Linked DNA regions of Homo sapiens: regions 1, 3 and 4 are each linked to region 2. Evidence: promoter capture Hi-C in 16 types of primary human blood cells and fetal thymus (Javierre and others, 2016). All regions are on one chromosome and are shown on one strand. The core of a region is centred on a gene start or on the middle of the fragment in contact, and the rest is flanking DNA. Distances in the headings are between cores, read along the strand shown. Region 1 overlaps EPB41 (erythrocyte membrane protein band 4.1). Region 2 holds the start of OPRD1 (opioid receptor delta 1). Region 3 overlaps EPB41 (erythrocyte membrane protein band 4.1). Region 4 overlaps EPB41 (erythrocyte membrane protein band 4.1).

Region 1 (2,700 bases), core at 56-2,555, 230 kb before region 2:
AAATTGAAAGTAAAAATAATATACCACATTAACATAAAAAGGAGAAAAATCATTTTATTATATCAACTGATGAAGTAAAAAGCATTTGATAAAAGTAACACTAATTCACAATTAAAATGTGTAGGAAACTAGAATGACAACTTCCTTATATGATAAAGAAAATACCATATAAGGAAGCTTGATGAAATACTGAAGCTTTTGCCCTAAAATTGGGAAAGATGATAGTTATTAATGCTTGTATTCAGCATTACATTGGACGTTCTAGCCAGCAACAAAGCAATTAAAGAAATTAAAAATGCGAGATGGAAAGGAAGACATACAACAATCATTATTTTCAGTTGATGTTGAGTACACAATAATGTATACCCCAAATAATCCACAGATAAACCATTAAAATTAATAATAAATTTTTTAGGGCTGGGTGTGGTGGCTCACGCTTGTAATCCCAGCACTTTGGGAGGCCGAGGTGGGTGGATCACGAGGTCAGGAGTTCGAGAACAGCCTGACCAACAGGGTGAAACCTCGTCTCTACTAAAAATACAAAAAATTAGCCGGGCATGGTGGTGGCGTGCACCTGTAATCCCAGCTACTCAGGAGGCTGAGGCAGGAGAGTCACTTGAACCCAGGAGGCAGAGGTTGCAGTGAGCCGAGATAGTGCCACTGCACTCCAGTCTGAGTGACAGAGTGAGACTCTGTCTCAAAAAAAAAATAAAATTAAATTAAAAAAAAATTTTTTTAGTAAGATTACTGAGTATAAGGTCAAACTAGAAAAATTAATTGTATTTCTATGTACCAAAACAATTGAACAAAAAATAAAAAATTTAGGATACCATTTATTTTATTTTGTTTTATTTTATTTTATTTTAGAGACAGGGTCTCACTCTGTTGCCCAGGCTGCAGTGCAGTGGCACAAGCACAGCTCACTGCAGCCTTAACCTCCTAGGCTGAAGTGATCCTCCTGCCTCAGCCTTCCATGTAGTTGGGACCACAGGTGTGCACTACCATGCTCAGCTAATTTTTTTTTTTTTTTTTTTAGAGACAGGGTCTTGCCATGTTGCCCAGGCTGGTCTTGAACTCTCAGACTCAAGCGATCCTCCCACCTTGGCCTCCCAAAGTACTGGGATTATAGGCATGAGGCACTGCAACCAGCCAAAAACCAAAAGATACCATTTAAGATAGCAAACGATGGCTGGGTGTGGTGGCTCACTCTTGTAATCCTAGCACTTTGGGGAGCCAAGGTGGGAGGATTGCCTGAGCCTGGGAATTTGAGACCAGCCTGGGCAACATGGCAAGACCCTGTCTCTAAAAAAAAAAAAAAAAATTAGCTGGGCATGGTGGCATGCACCTGTAGTCCTAGCTACTTGTGAGGCTGAGGTGGGAGGATCACCTGGGCCTGGGAGACTGAGGCTGCAGTGACTTGTGATCGCTCCATCGCACTCCAGCCTGGATGACAGAGTGAGACCCTATCTAATAATATTAATATAAAATAGCAAATGACATCAAATCTGTAAGAATAAATCTAATGAAAGATGCACAAGTTACCTACACCAAAAATCACAAAACATTACTGAGAGAAATTAAAGGAAACCCAAACAAAAGGAGGGTTATAGCATGTTTGTGAATCAGAAGACTCAATATTATAATACCAATTATCTCCAAACTGATCCATATAATCAACTAAATCCCAATAAAAGTATTAAGACTTTTTTAGTGGAAATAGAAAATCTGATTCTACAATATATAAGATAACGCTAAGGGCTAAAAATAGCCAAGATAATCTTAGAGAATATTGTTAGAGAATTTAAACACTTATAAAAGCTAGAATAATTAAGATAGTGTGGTATTGACACAAGGGTACACAAAGATCAATACAAGAGATTAGAGAGACCAGAAATGAACTCCCAAATTTATGGTCACCTGATTTATAACAAAGGTGACACTGGAATGCAGTAGGGAAAGAATGGTATTTTATTTTATTTTATTGTTATTTTTGAGACGGAGTCTCACTCTGTCATCCAGGCTGGAGTGCAGGCGCGATCTCAGCTCACTGCAACTTCTGCCTCCTGGGGTCAAGCGATTCTCCTGCCTCAGCGTCCTGAGTAGCTGGGAATTCAGGCATGTGCCACCATGCCCAGCTAACTGGCTAATATTTTTGTATTTTTAGTAGAGACAGGGTTTCAACATGTCAGCCTGGTTGGTCTCGAACTCCTGACCTCAAATGATCCGCCCGCCTCAGCCTCCCAAAGTGCTGGGATTACAGGTGTGAGCCACCACATCCAGCCAATATTTATTTATTAAATACACTGTAGCAAGAACTGTGGTAATTACCATGAAAAGTTAAGACCATACATCTTAAAAAAAAATTCAGAATATAAATGTAATAAGGCAGTCAAGATGTGATTTCTGTAAAGCTTTCTAACTTGTTCAAGGTACCAAAGCTCATTAACACTTGACTCTTTGGTTATCTTTGCTATCAGGAAAAGACAATACATCAGGCATAGTATCTATATAACCATGAAACTCCATTTAGCAAGGAAAGCCATGGAACATGCTATCAGACAGACCTGGATTTTTGTCATAGTTTGCAACTTACTGTCTGTGAGATGCTGAACAAGTCACTTAAACTTTCCAACCTCAGTTTTCTCACCTGAAAAATGGGGATAAAAAGATAATTCCCCACACATAAGGTAAACTAGAAGT
Region 2 (2,700 bases), core at 59-2,558:
GACCAACCTCTGCTGCCTCTGGCAGAAGAAAAGACTGTTAGAGGAGGCAAAGAGAAAATGGGAGAGGGCATTTGTGAGGAGGGCGTGAGTCTTCTCTGAATCCTATTCAGAATTCCTGACCAGATGGGCACTGGCGAAGGGAACAGAGAACCGGTTGGCGGCCCACAGCTGTCGCCCATGTTATCCAGGAATCACTGGCAAAGGCACACACAGCTGCACAAACACAGGGACGACGGCCACTCCGGATGCTCTGCCGCCCTCGGGGTTTCAAGAGCTTGACAAGAAACAACAGTCACATTGTTACATTCAGACAGAATCACAAACTGACCGTTAGGGACAAGCTCACACCAACAGATGAGCACCAAATATGACTTGGTAAGGGCCCCACGGCGAGGTGCTGACACCCAGCACCCTCCTGTCCGCCCTGCCTGCACGGTGCCCTCACACCGGTCTCCCCAAAGGCCCGCGGCACCTCAGAGCAGCTCTGCCCACCCCATGGGCATGTTTCCGACGTCCAAACATACAGTTGTACTGTCACAACCATCCACTCACAAACTGTGACAGACACACAAACTGACGCCAAACTGTCCCACAAAGAAGCAAGGGGATGCCAACAGATGATCAAATGTAATTTAGTCAACCGCGGCGCACTCCCCCCCCCGCACCACACACACACATACACACGATGACACACATTCCTGTGTTCCCCTCGATGTAAGTGGCCTCGCCTCTCGCTGGGCCCCAGGTGCCCCTGCAGGAAATGCGGAGGCGCGGGGAGTCCAGGGAACGGGCTTGGGGTCTCAAGTTCGTGATCCCCACCCTCACCCCGGGCTCCAGCCCTGCGGCGCCGGCCCGCAGCGGACTCACCGGACGATGCCGAACATGACAAGCACGTTGCCCAGCAGCCCCACGGCGCACACGGCCGAGTAGAGCGCGGTGATGGCGATTGCCAGGGCGAGGGACGAGGCGCTCCGCGCGCCTGGCGGCCCCGACGCATTGGCGCCAGCGCTGGGGCAGGCGCTAGGGTAGGCGTCCGAGGCGTTGGCGAAGAGCGGGGGCTGCAGCTCGGCGCCGGCGGAGGGGGCCGGTTCCATGGCTGCCGGCCGGCTCCGCCGCGTCCCTCTCCACCGTGCGCCCTGGGCGCGGGGATCCGACGCGAGGGGAGCGGCAAGGCAGAGGCCGCGGCCCCGACGCCGCCGGCTGCCGCGCCCCGGCCGCCCCGCTGTCTCTGCGCCTCGTCCGCCTGCCTCGCCGCCCGCACCGGCCCAGCCCCCGGCGTCCGCCCGCTCTCCTCGCCCGGAGCGCTGTGAGCCAGGAGCAGCCGCAGGCTCCTCGGACGCGCCCGCCGCGCGCACCACGTGGCCCGGAGGCGGCCGCCAGTCTGCGCCCGCGACCGGGGGCGGACGCTGCACCACCGGCTCGGAGCTGGGCAGGGGAGGCCTCCCGCCCCCTCCCTAGGGATGCTCCGCCGGCTCGAGTGCGACCCCGTCCCAACCTGGACTCCCCTCCCACCCCCTTGCCACTTTGGTGTCAGAGGGACCTGGGTGTGGATCCCGCCTCCCGCCCCTGCACTAACAGGCGGAGTGACCTTGTGTAAGTCACTTAACCTCCCTCAGCTTCATTCTCTTTGTCTGTGAGATGAGGAAAATCGTACCACCTCCCTCAGAGGGTGGTTGGGGAGATTGAATAAAATGATTCGAACAAAGAGCTTAGAGCAGTGCCCTGCGGACAGTTACATGCTCCGTAAATAACCTATATTATCCGTGCCTTTCTTGCACCCCATTCATTCGCTCAACAAAAATTCTGAGGGTGCCTAATAGAAGAGCCGGGTATTTGGGGGGACCCTCTAGTACACAAAACCAGATGCAGCCTCTGCTTCCTGGGGCTTACAGCCCAGTGCAGGAGAGAGAGCGAGCAACCCTAAAATGACATTAAGATATAGGTACGAATTGAGAAAGTGGCAGGGTCTACAAAACCCAGGGGTCAGGACAGCTTCCCTGGGGAAACGACACTTGAGGTGAGGTGTGAAGTTTGGGGAAGAACTAACTTAAGGAAGTAACAAGGGAAGAGGATTCCGGATAAAGGAAGCAGAGGGACTGAAAGGAAGCCAGGAAGAGGAGAAGGCAGGAAGTGAGGGGGCGATGAGGTGGTGGGCAGGCTCTTGAAGACCACCTTAAGGAGCACTCTGGCTGCAGTGCGAGCAGATAGAAGGGGGGCACTTGGCTAAGTCATCCTTGCCACACCCCTTCCAAGACCTAACCATTCCAGATTAGAGCCATCCTTCTTCTTGGGGTGCCTAGCCTTTCCAGAACATTCTACCAAGCATTACTTTGCTCCAGGCACTGTGATAAGCACTTTATCCATGCACCAACACTTTGGTGTAGCTTCTATTATTATTGTCCCCATGTTACAGATTTAGTGCTCAGCACTAAATTATCCCATATAGTAATTATTTCTATCCGAACTGGTCTCCCTCCTTAAAGGGACCAGGTCTGATTGACCCCTGCATCCAGGAGAGGGCTGGGGTCACAGCAGGTGCTCAAGAAATACTTTTTGGATAATAAAGATCCCAAAGGGAACTGGAGTGGAACAATATTAGGGGTTCTGAGCTCTAGGCTCTGGGGCAATGCTCTTGGATCTGTGTGTGGCTGGACAAGGAGCTCTCCCTCATCTCACCCTCTAGCTTGAATCATCCATATA
Region 3 (2,700 bases), core at 20-2,519, 210 kb before region 2:
CCTGCCTCAGCCTCCAGAGTAGTTGGGACTACAGGTGCGCGCCACCATGCCCAGCTAATTTTTGTATTTTCAGTAGAGATGGGGTTTCACCATGTTGGCTAGGATGGTCTCAATCTCTTGACCTCGTGATCCACCTGCCTTGGCCTCCCAAAATGCTGGGATTACAGGTGTGAGCCACCGTGCCCAGCCAAGAATTATTATTATCATAGCAGATATTTGAACTCTCACTATATACTGTCATTGTACTAATCACTTTATATAAATTTTCTGATTTAACAATTAGAAAATTCACATTATTGCCCTTATTTTTCAGATGAAAAAACTGAAGCTTAGAGAGCTTAAGTAACTTACCAAGAGGCACACAGTTAACAAGGAATGGAGTCTGAATTTAAAGAAAGGCTAACTCCAGAGCCCAAGATTTTAACTATGGTGCCCTATTGCCCCAACTCAGTGGTTCTCAAACTTTTTTGATCTCAGGACCTCTTTATTCTCTTAACAATTATTGTAAAAATTATTGAGGACCCTAAAGAGCTTTTCTTTCTTTTTTCTTTTTTTTGAGACGGAGTTTTGCTTTTGTTGCCCAGGCTGGAGTACAATGGCATGATCTCGGTTCACTGCAACCTCTGCCTCCCGAGTTCAAGCGATTCTCCTGCCTCAGCCTCCTGAGGAGCTGGGATTACAGGCATGTGCTACCATGCCCGGCTGATTTTGTATTTTTAGTAGAGATGGGGTTTCTCCATGTTGGTCAGGCTGGTCTTGAACTCCCGACCTCAGGTGATCTGGCTGCCTTGGCCCCCCAAAGTGCTGGGATTACAGGCATGAGCCACTGTGCCCGGTCAAGAGCTTTTCTTTATGTGGCTTATAGCTATTTGTATTCACTATATTAAAATTGTTTTAACTAAGGAAAATTTAAAATGTTTATTAAATTTCTAAAAAGTAACAGTAATCCAGCCAAGCACGGTGGCTTACGTCTGTAATCCCAGCACCTTAGCAGGCCAAGGCAGGCAGATCACCTGAGGTCAGGAGTTCAGGACCAGCCTGGCCAACATGGTGAAACCCTGTCTCTGCTAAAAATACAAAAGTTAGCCAAGTGTGGTGGCAGGCACTTGTAATCCTAGCTACTCGGGAGGCTGAGGCACGAGAATCACTTGAACCAAGCAGGCGGAGATTGCAGTGAGCCGAGATCACACTATTGCACTCCAGCCTGGGCGACAAGAGTGAAACTCCATTTCAAAATAAAATAAAATAATGGTAATCCCATTACTTTTTAACATAAATAACATAATTTCTGAAAAATACCAATATTTTCTGAAACAGTGATGAAAAGGTAACTTTGCTTTACATATTTACAAATCTCTTCAATGTCTGGCATAGAAGACAGCTGAATTCTCCCAACTGCTTCTGCATTCAATCTGTTGCAATATATTGATTTGGCAGTATGTGAAGAAATCTGATCTCACACAGACATGTAGTTTGAAAAGGGGTGACTATGAATTTAAAACACTCTTTTTTCTTTTTTTTTGAGATGGAGTCTTGCTCTTGTCGCCCAGGCTGTAGTGCAATGGCACGATCTTGGCTCACTGCAACCACCGCCTCCCAGGTTAAAGTGATTCTCCTGCCTCAGCCTCCCAAGTAGCTGGGATTACAGGTGCCCACCACCATGCCTGGCTAATTTTTGTATTTTTAGTAGAGACAGGGTTTCACCATATTGGCCAGGCTGGTCTCAAACTCCTGACCTTGTGATCCGCCTGCCTCGGCCTCCCAAAGTGCTGGGATTACAGGCATGAGCCACTGCGCCTGGCCTAAAATATTCTTTTCTGGTATTACACTAAAACTTATCAATGGCAGTTTCTTTTTTTTTTTTTTTTTTTATTATATCAATGGCAGTTTCTTAAAGATAATTTTCAATGTGAAATGTAGAAACTTATCAATGAACTTTTTGTACTGTTACATTAAAATCCATTGGTCTATCTTGCATTTTGAATGGATCTTTTACCTGTGCATGATTTTTTTAACATTGTGCATTTCTAATCTGAAAAATACTTGTTCACCAAGTTATGAAAATCTTCCAAACCTTGATATAATATGTGTATAAAAAAACACATTCATTAAAATAACCACTGACCTTAGCAGAAAAGTCTTTAAAAGCTGTCAAGATCATGGGGATATATAAAAGTTTTCCAAAATTCCAATTTTTACCAGAAAGCTTGAATTTTGTCATTAGCAACAAATACTGTCAGTTGCTTTCCTAAAAGTACTAGCTCATTTCATTTTTGAGAAAATGTGTGTCAAATAACCGAGTCCGAATAATCATAGTTTGTCATTTTTTCAAGAAAACATGGTGTTTTATAGAAAAGATGGCCACCGGGCGCGATGGCTCATGCCTGTAATCCCAGCACTTTGGGAGGCCCAGGCGGGCGGATCACGAGGTCAGGAGATTGAGACCATCCTGGCTAACACGGTGAAACCTTGTCTCTACTAAATATACAAAAAATTAGCTAGGCGTGGTGGCTGGCGCTTGTAGTCCCAGATACTCAGGAGGCCGAGGCAGGAGAATGATGTGAACCCGGGAGACGGAGCTTGCAGTGAGCGGAGATCACCCCACTGCACTCCAGCCTGGGCGACAGAACAAGCCTCCGTCTCAAAAAAAAAAAAAGAAAAAAAAAGATGGCCAATTCAGCTCACAACTCAATTGCACAA
Region 4 (2,700 bases), core at 113-2,612, 250 kb before region 2:
AAATAAAATTTTGCTTAAAAGTTTTTTCTGAGGGTAATACAGGTTTTAACTAAATAAAACTTTTTCAAAAGCAATGTCAAAGGGAAAACAGCATAAGAAGAATAATCAGTGAGACGATTTTGATTCTGTAGATATTCATTCAGAAAATTCATTAGTCTATTCTTTTTATTTTTGCAAGACTGAACCATGTATACCTGCTTTGAGATCAAACAGAAAGCTAACTCCAAAAGGGCAATCCTATAGCTATCCCAGAAGAGCATGTTTTGCTTGCTGGGATGAAATGTGAATATATTTTATGAATATGGACTTCACTATGGGGGAAACAACAGTTTGCACTTTTCTTCTGGCTGAAAGCAAGAAAAGCATGTCTAGTAGCTAAAGAAAAGCATGAACAAGCCCATTCAAAGACCCAGTATTGGACTGAGCAACCAGACCCACCAGGCATGTAAGGTCCTGTGACCCAGCTCCTCACTGGAAATTAAAATCTGTTTGGGCCAAGAACAACCTAATACATTTGGGAGGGTTAAAGGTGTGAATAGAGCAAAACAAAAATAAGCAAGAGATGCTATGTAAAATGATAACTCTCTTAGTTAACCTCTTAATGTAAGAGACTTGTAATTTGCTACTCTTCTTGCCTAGCTTCGGATTGGCTTGGAACCTGGGAAAATAAATGTTTTGGTAAAACCAGTAGCTTCTGAGGGAGCTTTCTCCATCCTTCTTAGCTGGCTTTGTTGAAAACCTGTGGGGGCACAGAGTAAAATTAAGATCTCAAAGGGACCTGTTCCAAATAGAATTTGTCATAGACAACTTGCTACAGGTTCTCTCTGGGAGATGGAGGAGGAGGCGGTAGATCTAAAAATGAACTCGACCTTATTTGTGCCAGAACAAAGCATTAGTGGGGGCGGGGTAGGAGAAGGGGGAGGAGGGATGCTTAAAAAAAAAAAAACCTGCTGGAGTGACAGATAACTTGAGAGAACTTCCTTACAGGGGAAAAAACTTCTAAAGAATGATGGCCAAATTACTTTGGCTGTGTTCAGGTTAGACACTTTTTGATGCCTATCACTTCATAATTTTAGCAGCAATCAAACCAAACACTTCATTAAATATAAAATGTTCTCAAAAGGCAGTTAGTGGTTTTAATTTCCAAACACACTTATTTAGAAATCCCCTCTCAGGGCTGTCAATGAAATGCTGAGGGAAAAACACATCACACACAGGGACTTTGTGAGTCTCAGAAGCCATAACACACCTCATGGAACAAATGACAAATATATGATTGGTACTGCAGGTTCCAGTTAAGAGGAAGCACTGAAGACGAACTAGTCAGGAAATATGCATGTTTAGAATTTCAAGATGTTACACTGCCAAATAAAGGAAATCAACTGACCTTCACTATTCTTCCTAGTCTCTGAAGATGGAACTACTCAGGTCTGGTTTCAGATATGGGCTAAAACAAAGAGATCCAGTTGCCAAGTTTGAAATATCTGAGGGTCCAGCCTCGAAAAACTTCATGTTAAATGAGACAAAGATATGTAAAGCACTTGGTATTTCACCCACCACGCAATACATGTTTAATGAAGGCTGGGCATATTTTTTTCTCAGAGACTTTATACATAACAAGTACTCAAAATACAGGTATTGACAAGGAATAAGATGAGGTTTAAATAATTATTAGAGGCTATATATTAAGCCAGAGGTCTATCTAGTTTTTAAAGTTTAGGTTGGGTCCAGTGGCTCATGCCTGTAACCCCGGTACTTTGGGAGGCTAAGGCAGAAGGATCACTTGAGTCCAGGAGTTTAAGACCAGCCTGGGCAACATACTGAGATCCTGTCTCTACCAAAAATTTAAAAATTAGCTGGGCATTGTGGCATGCACCCATAGCCCCAGCTATTCAGGAGATTGAGATGGGAGGATTGCTTGAGCCCAGGAGGCTGAGAGTGCAGTAAGCAGTGATTGAGCCACTGCACTCCAGCCTGGGTAACACTGTGAGACCCGCCTCAAAAAAAAAAAAAAAAAAAAAAAAAACAAAGGCCAGGCGCAGTGGCTCACGCCTGTAACCCCAGCACTTTGGGAGGCCAAGGTGGGCGAATCACGAGGTCAGGAGATCCAGACCATCCTGGCTAACACAGTGAAACCCCGTCTCTACTAAAAATACAAAAAAATTAGCCAGACAGGTGGCGGGCGCCTGTAGTCCCAGCTACTTGGGAAGCTGAGGCAGCAGAATGGCGTGAACCCGGGAAGCGGAGCTTGCAGTAAGCTGAGATCACGCCACTACACTCTAGCCTGGCCGACAGAGCGAGACTCTGTCTCAAAAATAAAATAAAATAAAATAAAAATTTTATATATATATGACCAATGTTGAATATAATGGGAAAATAATCTTACAACTCCTATAGCAGACAGCATGTTGCTATTTCAGAGTGCAAAACAGTGTAGTTTAATAGAGTTGGACAGATCCTAACTCACATCTTGGCTTTCCAGTTCTGGGACTACAGGGAAATTACTTAATCTCTTTGAGGTTCAATTTTGTCATCTTTAAAATAACAATCCCATACCCACAGGCCTGTTTTTATGATTAAACCATCTTATAGTAACTACTTATTAAATGCTAGGCTCCCCTCTTTCCTTCTTATATCTTACTTCCCGCCCCTCCCCGACAGTTCTTCTGTCATTTTTCTATTATCTCCAATATTTTAAGT

Evidence for each region. Contacts are between HindIII fragments. The CHiCAGO score rates a contact against its expected background, and 5 or more counts as called.
Region 1: a contact is called between a fragment that was not itself captured here and the fragment with the promoter of OPRD1 in region 2, in 4 of 17 cell types (total B cells, M0 macrophages, M2 macrophages and 1 more). The highest score is 6.0, in total B cells.
Region 3: a contact is called between a fragment that was not itself captured here and the fragment with the promoter of OPRD1 in region 2, in 1 of 17 cell types (megakaryocytes). The highest score is 5.1, in megakaryocytes.
Region 4: a fragment that was not itself captured here is called in contact with the fragment with the promoter of OPRD1 in region 2 in 8 of 17 cell types (megakaryocytes, M1 macrophages, naive CD8 T cells and 5 more); the score reaches 6.6 in megakaryocytes.

What each region holds. Positions count from the first base shown.
Region 1 is chr1:29,044,142-29,046,841 of GRCh38, reverse strand. The region is part of intron 11 of EPB41 (erythrocyte membrane protein band 4.1); the gene reads right to left. Among named protein-coding and RNA genes, the nearest start is that of TMEM200B, 78 kb to the left of the region's middle. The HindIII fragment of the contact is 2,216 bases long and covers 198-2,413 here.
Region 2 is chr1:28,810,778-28,813,477 of GRCh38, reverse strand. OPRD1 (opioid receptor delta 1) reads right to left here and starts at 1,308. Exons shown (of 3, transcript NM_000911.4): 1 at 868-1,308. The coding sequence starts at 1,094. The HindIII fragment of the contact is 20,164 bases long and covers 1-2,700 here.
Region 3 is chr1:29,021,544-29,024,243 of GRCh38, reverse strand. The region is part of intron 7 of EPB41 (erythrocyte membrane protein band 4.1); the gene reads right to left. Among named protein-coding and RNA genes, the nearest start is that of TMEM200B, 100 kb to the left of the region's middle. The HindIII fragment of the contact is 1,878 bases long and covers 331-2,208 here.
Region 4 is chr1:29,060,899-29,063,598 of GRCh38, reverse strand. The region is part of intron 15 of EPB41 (erythrocyte membrane protein band 4.1); the gene reads right to left. Among named protein-coding and RNA genes, the nearest start is that of TMEM200B, 62 kb to the left of the region's middle. The HindIII fragment of the contact is 3,472 bases long and covers 1-2,700 here.